Linked DNA regions of Homo sapiens: regions 1, 2, 3 and 4 are each linked to region 5. Evidence: promoter capture Hi-C in 16 types of primary human blood cells and fetal thymus (Javierre and others, 2016). All regions are on one chromosome and are shown on one strand. Each heading gives the region's core, a stretch centred on a gene start or on the middle of the fragment in contact. The rest is flanking DNA. Distances are from core to core; before and after follow the strand shown. Region 1 has its middle 10 kb from the start of GDAP1. Region 2 overlaps STAU2 (staufen double-stranded RNA binding protein 2). Region 3 overlaps STAU2 (staufen double-stranded RNA binding protein 2). Region 4 overlaps JPH1 (junctophilin 1). Region 5 holds the start of UBE2W (ubiquitin conjugating enzyme E2 W).

Region 1 (2,700 bases), core at 14-2,513, 460 kb after region 5:
CGGGGCTCTACACCCACAGCCCATGCTCATCACCTCTGCAACCTGCAGCCTCCGCTATACTGTTCTGCTTCTGTGTACATTTCAAATCAAATTTGCAGAAGAGCACAAAGAATCTGAACAGTCATTTTAGCAAAGCTAAAATGTCACATGCATATGATGAACTAGGTGCATACAGACATGGAGGGAGCCAAAATCAGTCTCATTTGTTGTTTTTCTTTCTTTCTTTCTTTCTTTCCTTTTTACAACCCCAAAAAGCAGGAAGAGTCCTTCTCTTTTGGTGCATCATGTAATGCATGTTGTAATTAGTTATTTATGTATCTAAGTCCTTCATTTAGAAAACCTGTGTATACTTACGTCCCAGGAGCCGTCACCTGTGCCTTGTATCATTTTATCCTTAATTGGAGTTTCGGTGGCTTGTCATTTAGTTTCTTTCACGTCACAAAAGAGGAGTGTCTTAGGAAGAGTGGAGAGACTGAGCTCACACACAGGCAAGTAGAAAATCTTCAAGTGTTCTGGCAACACTTGGACACTCCCAACACTCCGCAGTGAAAAAGCCAATATTTGCCAAATTTCTAAGCTGTGCTTATCAGTCAAACTGTTTTTTTCACCCCCCGCTCCCCCCGCCCCCACCCTTTATCCATCTTTTCTTTCCTTAACAAGGTTACCACCAATAGCTGTTTATGGTACTAGTGGGATGCTAACAGTACACGTTTAAAATGTAGGCCAACAGATTTTGAAGCTTTTGATGACATACAGCAGATAGATTTGGAAATGCCTAAGAACTTCTCATTTTAACTTTCCTCCTGATAGAATCTATTTGTATCACTGGTTTTAGTCTTGTAGACTTGGAGGGAGTGGTGAAAGATGAACAGGCAGGGCTCAGCCACAAGGGGAGAAAAACGTCATCCACCCCCCAGAATAGCAACAGCAATAAATATGGTCATGTCGCTCTTCTGCTGAGGCTAAAACGACAGACAGGATCACATTTACGGCACCCAGCAGGCCCACTGCTATGAGGGGTGGCTCAGGGCTTTGGAAGCAACGTGTACAAAAGTTGGTGCTGATTTCAGAGCTGTGACTTAGCACAGAAAGAAACAGGGCATAGGGTCTAGACCCCAACTCAGAGCTAGAAGGGGCTTGGCACCCTCTTGGCCACAGGGGAGGACATTCTAAATCAGCTTTCAGGACAACTGGCTCAGGGCTCTTGAGAGCGGAGCTGAGAACTTCCCTGCATGTCTGCCTGAGAACTTGCTGTTGTCTGCAGCTGCCACAGCCGTGAAGGCCCAGATGTAATCAGGAAGGTAAAAAAGAGGGCTCTCATTGATCATCAGTTATTTAAAGAGGGCCCATCAGATTTCAGTGACTTCTTTGCACAGAATCAGCACCTTTGCTCTGGGAAGTCTAACAGGAAGGAATATCTCCCTTCAAAACTCATCAAGGCTTCCCTTCCAGACCAAGCCACTGGATTTTAGCCATTAAGGCTCTAGATGCCTCAACTTCATCTCTCTATTTTCATATATATTCCAATTTCATATACTAAATGTCCATATCTCTGGGGAGTTGTGTTTTTACCATCTTCTTTTGCCACTTGAAACTGGTAGGATGGGGCTTATGCATTTTCATAACTTGCATACAGCAGGAGTCTCTTAGGCTGAATAGTTTTCAAGCTAACATATGTAGCTGATTCTTCATATGTGCTTTGGAAACCAAGGCATCACCTGAATTTGACCAGTTTCCCTTTTTTCTGTTAAACTTCCCTGCTCCAAAATGATGCAGTTTCATAAAGTGAAGCTTTTCCGCTCTGCCATCTTTGTGGTTCACCGACTTTTCCAACCTGTCCCCGCAGGGAATCCCTGGAAGCAGGTTCACTTTGGCCACATCACCCCTTTCTCTCATGGAACTTTAGTAACCACAGACTCAACTCCGTGCTTTCATTTGTTTCAATTACATACTGAGGATTTAAATTGATCTTTTCTTTATGGATTGCAATATTACTTTTATTTGAAAAATATAGTACTTAAGTGAAAGCCAATGTTGTTTTACACTTTGGTGTCTCTGTAAAATTCAGCACTATATTCTATTGTCACTGTTATCTTATGCTTCTTTAGGATCTTATTAAGACAAACAAGGTAAGTGAAGTATGTTTTTATAGTACTGTAATCATTCTCATATTTGTGCTGTCACTGTCCTTGGTAACGGGTGGTTAAGAAAAAAAAAATCATACCAGTGTGTTGAAGCTGGTGCCAAAGAAACATAAATGATTATTGCTGCTCATTGTCTGCTGCTGCCCAGAACTTTAACTTGCCCTATTTATACAGTTACAAAGCAAAATCTTACTTAGAGAAACCTTTGCAACATTAGCATTTTCTTTCTTTAAAGCTTATGTCTCTGAGTTTTTATGCCGTGTTTCTCACGTAGCCAGAGACAATGCAGACATAAATTAACTTTTCTGTGTATTATTTAGTGACGAAAAGAACACAACAGCAAGGATGTTTGAAAAATAAATTCCAGTGTATTCTTAAATACTCTAATTTGAATGACAAAGCTATATTCCAAATGATCTTAAGTCTCTGGAAAGATTCCTTTAAATATGAAAAGAGAATGATAAAATAAGATGTCCAGGAAGACTACTTGAATCATTTACTGGGAAATAGCAAGAAAAAGGCACTCTCCACTGAGAGGATAGTTAAAATGTACAGA
Region 2 (2,700 bases), core at 121-2,620, 390 kb before region 5:
ACTCCAGTTGTTAACAGCAGTAGGTCTATTGTTCAGGAAGTAATACTTTTCATGAGATTCATTATGAAAGAGAGGGGGGAAATCCTTTTTGGCATTCTGCATATAAAATCTTCTCAGAAAGACATCTGCAGTTTAAAAAAATTCCACCTACTTTTACTACTACAACCTTTGTTAATTTGCTACAGTTCTCTGCTCCAGTAACTTAAAAGTCATTTCCTTAAGAAAACAGATGACAGACAACTTGAGTGACTGATTATATTGTGCCATCACTTTGTTTTTCTCAGAGGCCTTGGTTTAAGAGGATGGATGTTCGTGTAAATGACAGCAAGGGGAGCTTCGCATAAGATTTCACTTCTGTTCAAAGACAAGCTAATGTAACCTCACTGCGGTGCCATCAACTTGACAAATGGACACCGCGCAACCCTCTGCCTCCCACTGAAACCCGAGAGCCTGATTTACACAATATTCTCCCTGTAGATGGAAAAAGACTTCATGCTGCTAGGCTGTATAATGGGTTGATCTGATAATTCTTTGCATGTAATGAAATTTGATAATATGAAGGTGAGATGCATCTCAAAGAATGAGGCAAGCTAATGAACTTGTAAAACTACACTTAAGTCTTTTAAAACCTGAATAAACATTAAAAGGGACTTAGCTCAATCCATGTTGAGAAAACGTAGCAGTTCTCATGTTTTAACTCTGCAATCAAAGATACACGGCCTTTACTTAAAAGGAATAAAAGATTCCAGCTCCAAGGAGTATAGCTCTATTCAAACAATTCAATATGATCTGTAGAAATTGCTGTGCCTTATCTTTACCATCAGATTTTGCTGGTCCTCAGTTCCTTACCTCAAGAATTCTACATTACTTTATCCTGTTAAATTATTTTCCTGGGAGCTCAATATTCTTCCTTCTAAAGTAGGAAATTTCTTAAAGAATTGATAAATAATGCCATGCAAAATTAACAAATAGTTCATCTGGAGATTTAAACGTACCTTAAACTGGCACAAAAATCACAAAAATTAGAGCTTCATAAGAAACATCCACTTCTGTTTTAAAGTCGTAAGTTCTTACATATTCAAAGTATGAATGTTTAAATAAAGTATTCTGAAAAGAAATTCATGGTATAGTTTATTTTATAGGCAAGGCTGATCTCAAATCCTCGGCAGTAAAACTGTCTATTAGTATTAATGCCTGGAAATAAACACCATGAATGTAAACTACAATCAGAAGCAGTTTTAACACATGTAAATGTTGAATGAGGTAGAATTTTAGGCTTATATTTACTTTGCTGTTGTCACAAATAAAAAAAGCACTTATGAAAACATTTCATGCTGAAGTGAATGGATCTCAACAGCTGCTGATTTGGTGACATGGAGAACCCCAGAGGAGACATCCTGCTGAATTAACGTTTTGGAAATGTTAAAAAGAAACTTCAAACAGACCTTGTTTAGCAGGCGGTCAAAGATTTTGCTCTGTGGGGATCATGTGAAGGCTAGCAGAGCAGTCACTCAGCCATGAATCAGACTTGTCAATAGTTGCCTATTTTCTCAACAGGTGACTTAAATAGGCACACAGTCTATTTCCCCTAACATTTCTGTGTGTACTTGTGCACAAAAAAATCATCCTAGACTTTGCTCTGGGATTTATTTAGGAAGGCACAGCATGCAGGGATGGGGAAATAGTTGTTTAAGGGGTTTAGACATATTTTTTAAATGTGTACTTTTGCTTTTTTTAACTAAAAAAATTAGCTAAGTTACATTTAAAATCTTATTTTCAAACAAACTTTTATCCTAAGTTAGAAACCTGGAACAGATTCAATCAAATAATTATAGGACAGTAAAGAACCTTGAAGATAGCAAAGATCAAACCCATTATTTCACAGATGAGGAAACTAAGGCCTACAGAGCTTTAAGTGATTTGCCAAATATTTACTTGTTCATGTGTTCGGACTAGAACTTCCATTTTCTGACTCCTTGGTTCAAAATTAGTACACTAAACTTATCCTTAAGAAATAAATGAGAAGTAGTCTTCTTTGAGCAATGTAAAAATACGCAAGAGAAGAAACCATTAAACTGAGTAAGATCTCATGGTTCAGTGTTTTTCTGATTTGGCGTGTTTTGATTATTTTCCTTTATGCTGGCCACAGAGAAAGAGAGAGAGTTAATGGAAAATTCCTTCCCCACACCACCAAGAAGTAGAGGTGGGGGCTGGGGTGAGAAAAGGCCCAGTACCAAGATGTGTTTTCTACTTTCAACATTTAGGAGTTTAGTGTAAATGTAGAGTACAAAAACAATAAAGCATTTCTTTGTTACTGACTCAGATTGGCATTGTAAACTATGCCATACAAGCTACTATTATGTCAGAAAATTACCAGGTATCCATTAAATGAGCTCAGACTGTTTTCTATTGTTAAGAATTTTTTAGTTGTTTTGGAAAGCCTAAGTACAGAGTTCAGTGAAAGTTCTCAGAGGTGACTCCACAATCACAGCAGTACTCATTACCTTAGTCAACCTCTCCTACTGCTTCCATCAATGCACGGTCATTACCAGCCAATGCTAAAATGGAATCCGAGGCTTAGTAAATCACCTCCAATTGACAAGATGCTTCCTAGATAAGTACTCTCTTGAAAATACTTTCTACATGATTCAGAGTTAAAAATTAGGAAGAAAAGCAAATGCCAATGCCATCAACATACAC
Region 3 (2,700 bases), core at 55-2,554, 360 kb before region 5:
TCTGGAAATAAAGAACATTTTGCTTCTTCCTTTCAAAGCTACACGCTGATCTATCTTGAAGTTTATGGGTGTGGGTTCTTCTGCCATCTCAAATCTGTTATTGAGTTACTCAAGTGAATTTTTCATTTCGGTTATTGTACTTTTCAACTCCAGAATTTCCATTTGACTTTTTAAATAATTTATCTTGAGATTCTTTATTTGTTGAACCATTGTTGTTATACTTTCGTTTAATCCTGGTTTTCTTTAATTCCTTGAACATATTTTAGCTGCTTTGAAGTATCTGTCTGCATAGTACATCTGAGCCCACTCAGAAACACTCAGCTTCTGCTTCCATTCACTGCTTTTTCCCCCTAAGTATTAATCACCCTTTTCTTTCTTTAAATATCTTGTAATTTTTTAAGCCTGAATTTTAGGTACAATATTGTACTAACTCTGGATTTTTATGTTCTTCCCTCGGGATTGTTGTTCTTGCTGTGGTTTTCTTTTTTTGTTTATTAAGTTGCCTAAACTAAATCTGTGGAATCCATCTCCTTCATGGTGCATCGCTGCTTATCTCTCTACTTAATTTTTTAAAACTTATTTTTGTTTTTATTTTTAAGCCTGATTCTTAGGGGTCACTCCCATGTCTGCATAGCTTAGTGGTCAGCCAGTAATTAGTCGGTGGTTATGCTCAAATACCCTAAGCTAGTAAAGCTTTTACCCTCTGCCCATGGGTCTGTGGTTGGGTTGGGGGAGCCCATTAAAAACTCAGGCAGTTTTCAAGTCTGCCCTGGCATTTACTTTCTGCCAGGCCTTTTTGCATCTTCTCTGCATATGTGCAGATTTCACAGTCATCCAGGGTGTATAGGTAGCTTGAGCCCTCTTTGATATCTCCTGCTTGTGTTTGAAGTGTTTTGGTGAGTTTATCAAGGCTCCCTATCACTGTGCCATTTTCCCAAATCTCCCTGATAGATTTCTGGCTAGTCTGCTGATACACTGTTGGCCCCAACTAGGAATGTAACCTCAGGTTCACTGAGTTGCTAGCTAGCCTTTCTTGTCTCTTACCGAGATGTCTACTGTTACTCATAATGTTGGTGGGCATGGGGCTTTCACATTCCATTTCATATCAAGGAAGGCCACTCCATCAGTGAAACTGATGGTTTTCATGGCCTTCTTTACCCTTGTAGAACTATTGTGCTGAGTCTGCAGGTGGGGGATGGGAGCACCCGCAGGCAGAAACACCACAAAATCCTAATTAGCTTACTTGGAGCACTATAGTTTGTCTATGAATAAATGCTTCTCAATTTGTTGAGTGTCTTTTATCAATTTTCAGAGTCCTAAAGTTGCTGTTTTTGACAATTTTGTCTAGTTCTGTTGTTTTTTGGAAAGGGAATTTGTTCAGCTCTCACTCTGTTCTTTTGGTAGTCTACCTTTAGAACTATTGTTAAGAGCTTTTTTTCACTCTTTCATACTCAGCTGGTCATCAAGGCCTGCTGATTTTTTCTCTGCAATGTCTCTTTAGGAGAGATGCTGCTTTCCTTGCCATTTTCAGAGTCACACCCATCAAGGTGATCAGTATCCATTCCTAAATTCCTATGATAGAAGCCTTCCTCCTCATCACAGTCAGTTCTGCATCTGGCTGCTAGATTGATCTTATAGACACCAGCATAATCACATCCCTTGTTCCTGAATGAAGAACGGCTCTTTGTTGCAAAGAACATAAATTTCATACTGCTCAGCCTACCTTTCAAGAATGTATTCAACTGCCTTGATCTCATGTACAATCATTTATGTCTGGAACTCCCACCAAGTTGAGTTTTTCTATCCCCACATATTCTTTGTCAACTTCCATTTTTCTACCTTTTCTCATGCTGTTTCCCCTATGTGGAATGTCCTTATAATCTGCCTTTCAATTTTTGGTCCATCAACTCCTAAAAGAAGCTTAATCAGATTAATTCTTCTGTTGTTGATCATTCCTATACTCCATAGCTCTTCAGTATTCATATGTAGATTTTTAAAACATTTCTGGCACAAAATCTTACTGGTTTGCAATTGGTCTTCAATTGTTTCTGTATATGTTTTATTTTTTCTCCAACTTTTTTTTCCTTTTTAAGGATTTATTTTTTAGAACAGTTTTAGATTCACAGAAAAATTGAGCACAACTTACAGAGACTTCTCATATAACCCTTGCCTCCAACTTTTAATTATAATCAATTTAGGACTTTATTTACAAAATAGAAGATACTTCTTAGCATCTAGTACAGTGGTGGACATGCAGCTGGTGGTTAAAACATGACTGTTGAGTGAATAAAATGTTTCTTGATCTTCAATGAAAATTCTAAAAACTCTTTGAAAATGAACACTTTTGGATTTTTTTTTCCTGAAGACCTTAACTCTTACATATACCTCTGAAAGCAGCAGTAGTATTAAAACTATTTAATAGTGTGCCATGAAAACTGAAAATAAAATTAGAAAAGAAAACAGAGTCCTGAAAACTGCTGGGCCAAATAATGACCTATTAGTTCCTAGACCATGGGGAAGTCCCAGAGGTCCTGGACATGAGGCCATGAAGGCAGGGGGTGAAGCATGAGGTAGCAGCTATTTGCCATGTGGAATGAAAGTATTTAAACATTTTAACAATTGGCACGACAGTATCAGGGGACAGCCTGAATGTCGGTTCTGCCAGCAAGTAGACTGATACTCTCTGGATTTCATAATGGC
Region 4 (2,700 bases), core at 14-2,513, 420 kb after region 5:
TGATGACTACTCTTATTACCCCTTAAATAAAAAGTACTTGCTAATTTGATTTTAGATGATGAAATTATATAGAGAAATTACATTTATAACAACAATTGAACCTTGTCTAGCATTTTGTCTTAATAGTAGCACAAAAATAATTCTCTGCTTCTTTCCACACACAGGTCATCATCTCTGCCTCTTCTTTAGAGATTTCTCTATTCCAGCCCCCTCTACTCACTTTCCTAATAATTGCTGTTATAAATGCCAGTGCCAATCTCCAATTTTGATGTATTCATATCCTCGGGAAGCTGCTAAGTGCTCAAGGCTTCAAAGTACTGTTCTTACTTGAAACTCATGTTATCTTTTTATCTATCACCTTGAATGTCCACACATCAGATTCACTATCTTTCTCCCCATAATGTCTCCATCAGCCTTTATGGTGCCACTTATGCTCTTAGCTAATTGTACTCACATCCTTAGAACGTTAACTCCCTTGTATACAGCTGGTTGTTGTATACAAGATGGGTTTTCCTTTACAAATTTCAAGGGTGCAGTTCTTTATTGCCTAGATGCATTTATTCATGTCCTTTATGATCTCATCCCCAACTTCTGCTGCTTGCAATCTACCTTGAGCACTGTAGCTAAAATCACTCTCCTCACATGTTGTTTTGCTCCTGTTAATAACTTCCTCGGCACTCTGAAACGGTTTCCACTTGTGTGTTGCATAATACCCTGGTTAGTGCTTTTCAGATCCTTTAATAGTCAGGCACCCCTTATCTAATTGTCCTCTTCTCTTGCCATGACTCAGCTGTACTCGACGGCACTGCAACGCAAAATCCAGGTGGGTTTGTTGTAAGACTTTTCAAAAGAGGATGAAGCTACAGGGTACAAATCTGACAGTAGGGCTGTAGCTAATATCTCCACCACTTTCCTAACTTTCCTACAACAGCATTCATTTTCAGAAATATGAGTAGTCATACCACTGCTGTTCTCCACAAATTTATTACCTTTCTGGATGTTTTTCCTGGTGGTAGAATGAAGGCACGAGAGACCTGTGTGCATATGAAAGATCCTTGTTTTCAGGTTCTACTACTGGCAATGGGAGCCATTACGAAACATCAACCCAGAATATCAGGAGAAGATTAAACAGGCTATGAAGCTAAAATTAAGACCTATTACAAAAAGCCACGAAGACGACACTGCCCACAAATAATGAACACTGGTGACCTTTACTGCCTTTGAGGGGGTTTTTTTCTCCTCGGGCTGTACATCATTAGATGGGGTCTTCTCCCACCTGGTAAAATTTCGATCCACTGTGAACAAATCTTCCCTTAGCTTCCCTTTAAAATGTTGCCGAAGGACCAACTTCTTTACGAAGTCATTCCAGAGCAACTCTTCCTGGCACCAGACACACTAATCATACCGGGACCTTCTTTATTCACCTCGTCTTTCTAATATTTCTCCCTTTTTCTCATTATTCAGTATTTCTTTAGGGTGTTAAGTGTAGCCTAAAGCTGCCTCCTTACATATTTTACATTCAGCCTAAAGGTTTCTCTGCACACCACGAACTATAACCTAAATGGAGTTGTATACAGATTGTAGCTTACTCTTGTGTCAATCACTGAGTTTTGGGCCAATCAAAGGGGGTCAACGATTCGAGCCGTGTTCAAATAAGGCAAATGACGAGCTGTAGCCAATCAGCTGTTTCTGTACCTCACTTTCCTTCTTCTGTCTATAACCCTTCTTCAACTACACAGCTGCACTGGAATCTCTGTACCCACTCTGGCTCGGGTGGCTGCCTGATGTGCGAATTGTTCTTTGCTCAATTAAACTCTGTTAAATTTGGCTAAAGTTTTTCTTTTAACCACAGCCACATATGCATATTTACATAGACACTGTTTATGGGGAGCGGGGTGCCTGTCTGAGGCTTGTTTTGTTTTTTCCCTTTGTTGGTGTATGCCTTCTATTTCCCTTGAAGTATCTTTAACATGTTGTCATTGGGTGCTGAATACAGTGGCACATCTTTAACTGTTACAAATATAGCAACTGTAATTTAAAGAAAACTTTTAAACAATAAAGTTTTGTAGCTGAACTTTTAACACCACAAAAGTGATTCATTACTAAAAAGTTTAAAGAAAAAAAGAAAAGAAAACCTTCAATATGTTCTTCTCGCCCTCGTTTTCACTTACGGAATTAAACAGTAGTGACTACTTACTCTAGAATCACATTTTCATAGTTCCAACAATGGGCTGAAAGTTACTCTGATCTAGCGAAGAGTTAGAATAATTTTTCAAAATGCTTTTACTGTCAAATTCACACAGTACCATGAAAAACAACAAAAACAAAATATCACTAGGCTATAGGCCAAGTAAAAGTCTTTGGAACTGCTTTATAAACAAGTCAATCCACTCCTTTGTTAATTCCTAGAAGACTAGCCATTTTGACGTTTATATAAACTATGAAACCTTCATGGAATGTGGCAGAGCACTAATAAACAAATACGGGACTGACTGAATTGCTTCGTGTTATTTTTTTAACTACCTCCCATGTACATGCATTTTCTCTAATTGACTCTAAGCTTGTGTGTGCGTTGTGGGGGGCGGAGGGGGTCAGGCCCACGCTTTTTCCTCCATTCACATCTAGCACAGTACTAAGTGTGTAAGTATTGATAATACTTCTGATATAAACAAGAATAACTGGTAAGTGAGTTGTGTGCGT
Region 5 (2,700 bases), core at 192-2,691:
AGTCCAGAGGGAGAAGCAAGGTAAAGAGAATATTGTAAGGAAAACAGGTTGAAAGGGGAATAACATAAAAGCACAGGAGTAAATGTGAAGCAAAGCTATATTTGTACAAAAGAGGAAGAAGATGCAGAAAAGGGAAGAAAAACACTTTTAGCAGAGTAAAGAAAAAAAAATGGAGGAGGAACAGAGACTTGCTTCTTCCAGAAACAAAAGCAAAAAACACTTCTAAGAAAATGTGGTCTCTTTACCCAAGGGGATATTATGAAAACGCTAAAGGGTACTCAGCTGACACTCCTATTGAGCGTTCTACTTTCTCTTCCAATGCCTTTGATACCGCTAGTCTTCACCTGTGAATTAAATGCAGGCTACAGATAACGCACTCAATCCCTGCACAACTACAATTGTGGTTGCCATCTTTGCCTGGAAACAAAAAACAAAAAAACCCACAACTCCCTAGATTCGGGAAAAAGGAGTAAATTAAGTTGGAAAGCCAGAAAACCACGCCTTGCTAAGTCGGGGGGATATGGCACAGGTTAACAAACGCCTCCTACCAAACTAAGGTTCCACTAAAGGTCTGGGAATAAGGGCAAAGAGATGTATAGCCTTATCGCGACCGCAAGGGTGGGGCCTTGCAGTGGGAAACAAAATAGAAGGCAAGCTATCCCGAGAGGTTTAAGGGGGCTGAGGACTCGGCTCTCGGGAGATCGCCCATCAGGCGGTGGACACGGGGCAGCTTCGAGAGGAAGGAGACAGTGGACTGCTGGAGGAATGTCCGCGAGAATACCGAGGCTGATGGAAATAGAAGATACCCACGGGCACAGGATTAAGAGTCAAAGGGAAGAAGAGAGGGACGGGGCCGAGCAGTCTGGGGGGCCCGGCGTGGGAGGCCGGAGCAGAGGCCGCTAAGCGCCGTCCGCAGCCAGCCGCCTTCTCCGGAGACGCATTCTCGGCTCCCGCACACTCAGCCCCCCGCCGCCCCTGCCCCGGCAACAACCGCGGGCGCAGCTGTTTCCGTCGGGCCAGGGACAGCGGGGGTAAAGGCAACCCTGGGGCTGGCGGGCAGCAGACTGGCAGCGCCCGTGTGTGTGTGCGGGGAGCCGATTCTGAGACCGCCAACGCCAGACTTTGCCCTTTCTTCCCCAACCCTCCTTTATCACCCAACTTCCCGGCCGGCTGGTGTCCGCTTCGACCGACGGATACCGCACCCCCCACAACGCCTCTCGCCGCCTCTTACCCCTCCCCCGACGCCCTGAGCTGAGGGAAAACAGGCCACCCGGACCGATCCCGAACCCGCCCGGGTGTCCCCGAATCGCGGACGCCACCCCCGCCCGAACGCTGGCACTCTCTCGGCGGCTCCCTGGCCCGCCCAGATGCAGCAAACTCCTCTCACCTGCATTGACGCCATGATGGAACCATCCCCCCAAGACCGGCGAGGCCAGAGACGCAGGGGGAGGAGCTGCCGTGCTCGCGTCACGCCGCGGGGGCTCAACATCCCGGGCGCGGGGGCGGGGTCTGCGATGGGAAGGGGATGGAGCGAGGGGATTGGCTGGCGCGCAGGGCGGACGGGAGGAGGGGCTACGGGGCGGGGCGAGGGCGCGGTAAATGGCGCTCTGAGTACTTTCTGTCTCAGTCCGGCTGGCCGCTCACGCGTCGGGCCCCCATTTACTCTCGTTACTGAGGAGACACGGCTCCAGTTTTGACCCGACTACGGTTGTTTTCTTCGTGTGTACCGCGAAATGCTGATGACGTCCGGTTCCGCGCAGTTTTTTTCCTATTTCGTTTCCAACCACAGTTGTGCGGTTCACAGATTTTTCCCTTGGGATGTGTTTTCCATACCTCCAAGCCCACTCTCAGAGCCTTGGGGCCCCATAAAACTTCATGCGCAGCTGCTTTCTGGTATTTGCAGACCTGGAAGGCTTCTCGTATTCTTAATTTGGGGAAGAGAGACATAGGTTTCCTTGTACAACGGGATGAGGATTTAAGAGCAGAACGACACTGATATTTTAAAGGCGAGGGTATTTAGATTTGTGGAGCTGAAACTTGCCTGAAAAGGGAGACAAAATTTGGAAGTTTGTTGTGTGCAGTTTCTGCCCCTTACCCCCGCCCTTCACTTTTAAACTGCGCATATATCAACAATAGTTACGGTTGTTGCAGCAGTCTAAATTTGATTATCAGAATTGACCCTAGGCATGAATTTTTTTTTAAATATACCAATGTCGTGTTATATACACTTATACCATTATGTCCAGACTTCTCTTAAGCATAGTTCGTGGTGGGCAGTTTTGTGGTCATTTAGGGATGAACTTGGGTAGGGAAAGCTGAGCATACATAATTTATTTTAGGAATGCACCAGTTCTGCCAACATTTATCAGAAGTCACGTTTTTAAAAAGCTATTCTGGAACTGAAGATGTCATTGGTTTATAAGAGGAAAATGGAAGCCAAAAGCTTACACCTCATGCTCTATCTTTAAAAATTAAGGTGGCAGACACAATGAGTAGAAGGCTTTTATGTTACCAGAATGAAGGCTTAAAATCTGTCATTTTATTGACTCGGCTTTCTTTTTAGAAATTTCTTTAAGATATAAAAGCAATGTGGAATATCACTCTTTCACACTCTTAAAATAGATTACGTTCTCTGGAACTTCTCTAATCTGAAATGTGTTCAAAAAGGAAAAAGATCTTTAAAATACGCCAGTTAGTCTA

What was found. The method cuts DNA at HindIII sites, captures the fragments that hold promoters and counts their contacts. A CHiCAGO score of 5 or more calls a contact.
Region 1: a fragment that was not itself captured here is called in contact with the fragment with the promoter of UBE2W in region 5 in 5 of 17 cell types (fetal thymus, M2 macrophages, M0 macrophages and 2 more); the score reaches 16.4 in fetal thymus.
Region 2: a fragment that was not itself captured here is called in contact with the fragment with the promoter of UBE2W in region 5 in 1 of 17 cell types (M2 macrophages); the score reaches 5.2 in M2 macrophages.
Region 3: a fragment that was not itself captured here is called in contact with the fragment with the promoter of UBE2W in region 5 in 1 of 17 cell types (M1 macrophages); the score reaches 5.9 in M1 macrophages.
Region 4: a contact is called between a fragment that was not itself captured here and the fragment with the promoter of UBE2W in region 5, in 1 of 17 cell types (fetal thymus). The highest score is 6.8, in fetal thymus.

What each region holds. Positions count from the first base shown.
Region 1 is chr8:74,338,587-74,341,286 of GRCh38, forward strand. No RefSeq gene overlaps it. Among named protein-coding and RNA genes, the nearest start is that of GDAP1, 10 kb to the right of the region's middle. The HindIII fragment of the contact is 1,052 bases long and covers 738-1,789 here.
Region 2 is chr8:73,489,866-73,492,565 of GRCh38, forward strand. The region is part of intron 13 of STAU2 (staufen double-stranded RNA binding protein 2); the gene reads right to left. Among named protein-coding and RNA genes, the nearest start is that of STAU2-AS1, 71 kb to the left of the region's middle. The HindIII fragment of the contact is 3,881 bases long and covers 1-2,700 here.
Region 3 is chr8:73,512,707-73,515,406 of GRCh38, forward strand. All of the region lies in intron 13 of STAU2 (staufen double-stranded RNA binding protein 2), which reads right to left. Among named protein-coding and RNA genes, the nearest start is that of STAU2-AS1, 94 kb to the left of the region's middle. The HindIII fragment of the contact is 1,227 bases long and covers 692-1,918 here.
Region 4 is chr8:74,297,833-74,300,532 of GRCh38, forward strand. All of the region lies in intron 2 of JPH1 (junctophilin 1), which reads right to left. Among named protein-coding and RNA genes, the nearest start is that of JPH1, 22 kb to the right of the region's middle. The HindIII fragment of the contact is 2,590 bases long and covers 1-2,558 here.
Region 5 is chr8:73,877,421-73,880,120 of GRCh38, forward strand. UBE2W (ubiquitin conjugating enzyme E2 W) reads right to left here and starts at 1,442. Exons shown (of 6, transcript NM_018299.6): 1 at 1,388-1,442. The coding sequence starts at 1,402. It overlaps LINC01617 (long intergenic non-protein coding RNA 1617), which reads left to right and starts at 1,562. Exons shown (of 3, transcript NR_147034.1): 1 at 1,562-2,700. RefSeq lists enhancers at 125-174, 651-1,528 and silencers at 915-1,174, 1,195-1,244, 1,385-1,674. The HindIII fragment of the contact is 3,471 bases long and covers 1-2,441 here.